Linked DNA regions of Homo sapiens: region 2 is linked to region 1. Evidence: promoter capture Hi-C in human tissues and cell types (Jung and others, 2019). All regions are on one chromosome and are shown on one strand. The core of a region is centred on a gene start or on the middle of the fragment in contact, and the rest is flanking DNA. Distances in the headings are between cores, read along the strand shown.

Region 1 (3,577 bases), core at 632-3,131:
GAAAATACAAATAAATTGTTTAATAATAAAATCTGCTATCATTTATCCTAAATTTATCTTTAAAAGATCCAAAGTGTTACATCTAGAATGCTAATGTCAAAGAGAAAAAATAATTATGTTAAAAACACTACTGAAAAACTTGAGATACTATAGCACATTTTAAGTTATCTAATATATGGAGGTGTTGACACAAAAATCACTGTAACTAAAATTCAAAAGTATAATGAAATATAAATATAGTCATCTCAGTTCACTTTGTGTTAGGGCAAAATAGGATCCAGCTTAAACTATTGGCACTGCATAGCTTTACTGAAGTGTCTTGATGGTTAATGCGCAAATTATTGCAAGTGTAGTATGTTCCAAGGAGGCTACAGTTCATCCCCTGTAAAAAGAGAGGGAAGGAAGCTCAATGACATGAACGGAAAGATCCTTGGGGCCTGCAGGCTCTCTCTCTTCATTTGCAACTGCAGAAGTAGAGCAAGAGTACACAGTTATTCAGAATTATTTGCATTTGGCAAATCCTTAATTGATCTCTGGCCACTTGAATAGATTCTTCCAGGAAAAGACATACGACAGTTTTCATCCAATACCCTGGGTTTGGAGCATAACTTATTCTGGAGGCCAAAGAAAAACAAGCCAAGCAGTTTCTCTTCCTTTGGTTCAAAAACATTGAATAATCAGTCCTCATTAGTTTCAAAATCAGCCCTCCAGATTTTAAATGGAGAGAGCAAGTGGCTTAGGAAGGTTGTAGTTAGATCCCGCAGATGTACTCAACCCCTCTGCTCTGCAACTGACTCGGACTCTGTCCAGCAATCAGTCCCCAAGGACTGCCACAGAGAAAGTCCTAAAGGCAACCACGCTCCTCCCTCTCTTCTCTTGGCCATCTCCTGTGAGGAAAACCTCTGTCCTGGCTTGACTTCTGGACACCAGGATGCCTCCCTTCAGACAAACTAAAAAATAGCCTCACGGCACTTGCTGCAGAGGAGTGTGTGTTGTTTAGAAACTAATTTCTCACCTAATACAAATTATCTGTGTCAGATTCAGATTTAATAAGTACTATTTTTGTGTTGAGTAATGTACGTACTTTTTCTAATCCTTAAAACAACCCAACAAACGTAATATTAGAATTCCATTTTTTAAATTAGATGGCCCAAAGCAATTAAGTGACTTGTCAAAAGCTAAACAATTTATAAGCATGAGACTCAAAATTTGAACTCAAATTTGAGTTTATCTGATTTCTTTAACCAATCTTCTCTCTTATTTCCATCAAACTAATGAGGGGATCATCACCTTTCACTGATATTTTTATGGATAAAACATAAATCGCACAGAAATTAAGGGTTAATCTCCCATAAGAATCTGATGTATTAGTCACAAAATATAAAATGAGAGAACCAAGTCTTACCTGGAGGAAGAGATCAAAGATAGCCAGTTCCTTTCAATGTGCTCAGCAAGAGGATGGACCACACACCACAGACTGAAAGAGGAAACTGAGGTAAACTCCACAGCAATTTTGAACAATTTTGCCAGGTGGGGAGAGTGTGGGTGGACACAAGCAGAGGAGATTAGGGAAAAGAAAAGATGAAGGGCATGGTCTCACCCCTGAGCGATCTCTTCTCTTTCCTCTTTCTTCCTGGCCTCTTTTTTCTGGCAGTCAGCAGAGAATTGGCCACGCTGGCAAGGCCACTGACGTGCATCTCAGCTCCCAGGGCACAGAAAGAGCTGAAGCTTTTGAGCCATTTCTTTGCAATTTGCTGCAAGTTTAAGGCCACACGTGATAAAGCTTTCTTTATGGGAGAGAGTGAATAAAAGAAAAGACCACTTGTGATCTTACTTGCTGATTCCCAGAAAACACAACTCCGCAGGGGGCAGAGGGTAAGGAACAGAAGCCAGAGGAGGGCGGAAGTTTATAACAGAGACCCCTCCTCCTTCCAGAAAGTTTTTAAGCCAACTATTCCTTAGGGACATCACTGGGATCCTTGTGTTTTCTTTGTTTGTGTGTTTTGGTTTTGGTTTGTTTTGTTTTGTCTTTAACGGTTCTTGGGCTAATTTGCTACATGGTTTTCTTTTCCATTGGTGTTCTAGAATCTTTAAGGACCAAGTATCAGGTCACAATCAAAGCTCTGCAGCGCTCTGTACAAAAAGAGTTAATTCTCAGAGACATGATCAGTTGCTCATATTTACAATTTCTATGAGTTTTGAAAACAGAAAAGAAACACGTTGAATTTTTGGCATTCAATTGTTTATTCTGCCTAATTCCAAGGATAAATAAATCCTTGCACTGAGAAAGTCCACAATTCTAATACATTCTTTTTCCAAGAGAAAAACTTTAGAGGATCTTAAGCAGTAGTAGTTTGCATTTATTTTCTACCAATAAATAAATTTGCTACCAGAATTATCCAAGATTCACCCTACTCTTAAGTGGCTGAGACTCTGGGATGGTCACTTAATTTTACTGAGTCTCAACTTCTTCCTTTGTAAAGCAGAATTTTTTTGTTTAAAAAAAAAAAAAACAGATTTATAGGGCTGTTTTAAGGATTAAATTATATAATGTATTCAAAAGCACATTGCAAATGAGCGGAAGGTATCATCATTTTATATATATATATATTTAGTTCACATAATGGTCAGAATAGTTAATATTATTCAAGCACATTTTACTACAAAAGAAAGAAAAGAAAATGCAAGAAAAATGGGTTTATATTAAACCTTGCAATGAAGCAATGGTGTTTTCACACTCTGAAAGGCCAAATATTTTACTTTAACAATCAAACCAGACTTTTCCATCGGAAATAGTGAGCAAACATCCGAATACATTGAGTGTTAGTCTAGACTTCTCAGTGTCTAACAGGTGGCCAGACCACTGTTTTATTCAAGAGGAGACAGTATTTACCAGCCCAAAGGGCATAATTTTCCTCACCAAGAAATGAAATTCTCCCTTGAGAATGTAATTTTGTCTATTCCCAACTGGCTCAGTCTCACTCTCCAACACGATTCCTTTTCTTATTTCCAGAGTCCACAGTTAATGTTACTGTTTTGAATGCACATAATGTTTACACTTATTCAGAGCTTCTTATGTGCAACCTTGCATTGGATTGTAGCCTACTTCAGCCTTTCATTCCCATTTCCAAACTCTAGATGAGGGAGTTAACAAACTTCTATAAAGGGACAAATAAGAAATATTTTAGGTTTTGTAGGACCATGCAATCTCTATCACAACCACTCACCTCTGCCATTCTGGTGGTAAATTAACCACAGACAACATATAAATGAATGCATTTCCTAAGACTGCACTAACAAAGTACTACAAGCTGAGTGACCTAAAACAGAACTTTATTGTCTCACACTTTTGGAGGCCAGAAGTCAAAAATCAAGGTGTCAGCAGAGCCATGCTCCCTCTGAGACCTGTAGGGAAGAATCCTCCTTACCTCTTCCACCTCCTGGTGTTTGCTGACAGCCTGAACTCCTTGTTTTATAGGTGTATCACTCCAACAGCTGCTTCTGTTACCACATGGCCATCTTCTCCCTTTATGTCTCTGTCCTCTGTACTTAAAAAAACGCTAGTCATCTTTGGCTG
Region 2 (3,211 bases), core at 386-2,885, 240 kb before region 1:
GAGGTCCTGGCTTTTCCAACAACATGGACAGAACTGGAGGTCATTATGTTAAGTGAATTTAGTGACGCACACAAACTTCATATGTTCTCATTTATGGGAGGTAAAAATCGAAACAATTGCACTCATATATAGACAGAGTAGAAGGATGGTTACCAGAGGCTAGGAATGGTTGTGGGGTGATGGTAGGGGAATGTGGGGATGGTTACTGGATGCAAAAAATAGTTACAAGTAATAAATAAGACCTAGAATTTGATAGCATAAGAGGGTTACCATAGTCAGCAGTAATTTATTGAATATTTAAAAATAGCTGAAAGAGTAAAATGGAATTGTTTTTAATACAAAGAAAGGATAAATGCTTGTAGTGATTATACCCCACATTCCCTGGTATGATTATTATGCATAATATGCCTCTATCAAAATGTCTTCTGTACCCCATAAATACATATATACTTACTATGTGCCAACAAAAATTAAACATAAAAATATTTACTTAAAAAAAAGACAAGTGTCTGCATCAAAGGATAAGAGAACAATGTTAGAAAAACTCATCTTCAAAGGGCATTTGTAGTGTCACATATTGTCAAAAGACTGCTTTCCCAGATTCAGGAGGACTCTTTAGACCATTTATGCCACCCATTGTGTCCTATTAGAACACAAACACTAAATTTCCAAAAATAATCTCAGAGAATGAAATGTTTAAAAAGTAGCTTCTGTAATGAAACTGGGTTTCATGAAGGTCATCAAGGTATATATTAAAAACTAAATATGCTCATATTATTTGTAACTTATGGATGAAATAAAAAAGGAAAGGATTTTAGAGGTAGAAGAGGACTTACTAAATTAACATAGGGCTTCTAGTACAAGAGAGTAAAATGGACAGACATATTTCTATTTGTCTTTTTATTCTGCCTCCTATTGAAATGACAGTCAATATATAAAAATGATGTAAATCTCTAATGGTAAAGAGAATGGAGGAAGGAAAGGTAGGGAAACTGAGTGTAAAAACACTACGGTTATTTATGTGTACTATAAGCAGTTGTCCCCAACCCTGGGCCACAGACTTGTACTGGTTGGTGGCCTGCTAGGAACTTGGCCACACAGCAGGAGGTGAGTGGCCTGTGAGCAAGCATTACCGCCTGAGCTCTGCTCCTGTCAGATCACAGGCAGCATTAGATTCTCACAGGAGCACGAATCCTATTGTGAACTGCACATGTGAGCGATCTAGGTTGTGCATTCCTTAGAAGAATCTTACTAATGCCTGATGATTTGAGGTGTAACAGCTTCAATCTGAAACCATTCCTCCCACCACCCCTGGTTTGTGGAAAAATCGGTGCCAAAAAGGTTGGGGACTGCTGCTATAAAGGGAGTGAGAATGTCTGCAGGGATACAACAGAGTGGAGGAAGCTGGAATACAGAATGCACTTAGAAGGAGGCTGGATTGGAGGTGGAAAACTGAGTTGCCAGTTCAGAGTTTGAGCTGGTAGCTGGGCAGAAAGCAGGCTAGTTAATTGAAGGACTTTGTACAGATTCTTTACAGGCTAATATGATTTCCCAAATGATTGGATGCATCATATATAAAGGAAAGCAACTGAGAAGAGAAAGACTGTGTAGAACAGGTTTAGGGGGAAGAATTATGGACTAAGTTTTAGGTACATGAAGTTTGGAATTTTATCTCTTGAGTGTATTAAAAATAACCAAGATTCAAGATGAGGGTAGCCTTGAAACAAGAGAGAGGAGCTCAAATCATTGGAAGAGAGGAGTGTAACTTTGACATAGGTATGACTGCAGCAGTGAGGGCAGCAAAGAAAAGTACTAGGTAATTTCTAACCCTATCCATATGTGATGAGTCACTAATCAGAGTTGTGTGCCTAAGCTTCTAATGCAGGTCTTGGTGAGAAATGATGACTCTAGATTGATGAAGAGGAAGAACAAAATCCAGTCCTTATTGGTGGAATAACAGAAGCAAATATAAGAATGTCTCCTTTGCTACTGGCTATACTTCAGTGGTTACAGCTTAGGCCAATGAGATATTTGGCAGAGGCTTGCAAGTTGGGAAGAGATTTCTTTCTGAAATAAAACAACAAAGCTTTCTGAGAGACATTTTCCTCTATTCTGAACTGTGGATATTAGCCCTGGGGAGCAGTAGCCACCTTGCAACCATGAGGGAAAAAGTCTAGGGAAGAAAGACAACACAGGAAAGGTGGCAGAGCTGGGACACTGCTGGAGGGTTGTTACCCAAGGCAGCACTTAATATATCCACCAGTTGAACAATGAGAACACTTGGACACAGGGTGGGGAACGTCACACACTCGGGCCTGTCGTGGGGTGGGGGGACGGGGGAGGGATAGCATTAGGAGACATACCTAATGTAAACGACAAGTTAATGGGTGCAGCACACCAACATGGCACATGTATACATATGTAACAAACCTGCATGTTGTGCACATGTACCCTAGAACTTAAAGTATAATAAAAAGAAAGAAAAAGAAAGAAAGAAAGAAAGAAAAGAAAAGAAAAGGAAAGGAAAGAAAAGAAAAGAAAAGAAAAGAAAAAAGAAAAAGAAATATCTCCACCAACAGGGATAGGGCTATGTGCTGTGGATTTTTAAGCTTATATATATTTTTTTCTTTTGGAGACAAGGTCTCTCTCTAGCACCCAGGTAGGAGTGTAGTGGTATGATCATAGTTTTTTGTAACCTCCAACTCCTGGGCTCATAACATTATAAAACTTAAATGGAATGCTTATATAAGAAAATAATTCAAAATCATAAATACAAAATGAATGAGGGATCAATCTTTTGACAGAATAGTCCAGAGTTACTTACACTCTGGATTAAACTATTTGTTTTGGTAAACTATTTGTTTACTAGATACATAATATATGAATTATTAGAAAATCTATTAAGAAAAATCAGATAAGGGAAATAGGTACTCTCACAATATTCAAATTGGTCTTGAAAATTTATAAAGGTAATTGAAGCACATTTTCCTTTATATCAAAGAAATAAAAATGAGACTTCCACTTTCCATCAGAGATGCAGGGAGCAGGAATGTCTCACCCACACCCTTACAATAGAAAAAGATGGATAAAATGCAAATCATAACTTTTCTTGAACCCATCAGGAGTTGAGCTTACCAGGCAAACAGCTAACTGGAAATCTAGAGAGAGATGGGCTCCTGTAAGAAGACATAGGATTTGAACACTTGTTTAC

The links. Contacts are between HindIII fragments. The study calls those that stand out against the background at their distance.
Region 2: a contact is called between a fragment that was not itself captured here and the fragment with the promoter of SLCO1C1 in region 1, in 2 of the 25 tissues and cell types used here (adrenal gland and psoas muscle).

Annotation. Positions count from the first base shown.
Region 1 is chr12:20,693,636-20,697,212 of GRCh38, reverse strand. It overlaps SLCO1C1 (solute carrier organic anion transporter family member 1C1), which reads right to left and starts at 1,881. Exons shown (of 15, transcript NM_017435.5): 1 at 1,406-1,881. The HindIII fragment of the contact is 14,433 bases long and covers 1-3,577 here.
Region 2 is chr12:20,929,992-20,933,202 of GRCh38, reverse strand. All of the region lies in intron 13 of SLCO1B3-SLCO1B7 (SLCO1B3-SLCO1B7 readthrough), which reads right to left. All of the region lies in intron 1 of LOC124902894 (putative solute carrier organic anion transporter family member 1B7), which reads right to left. Among named protein-coding and RNA genes, the nearest start is that of SLCO1B3-SLCO1B7, 120 kb to the right of the region's middle. The HindIII fragment of the contact is 3,901 bases long and covers 1-3,211 here.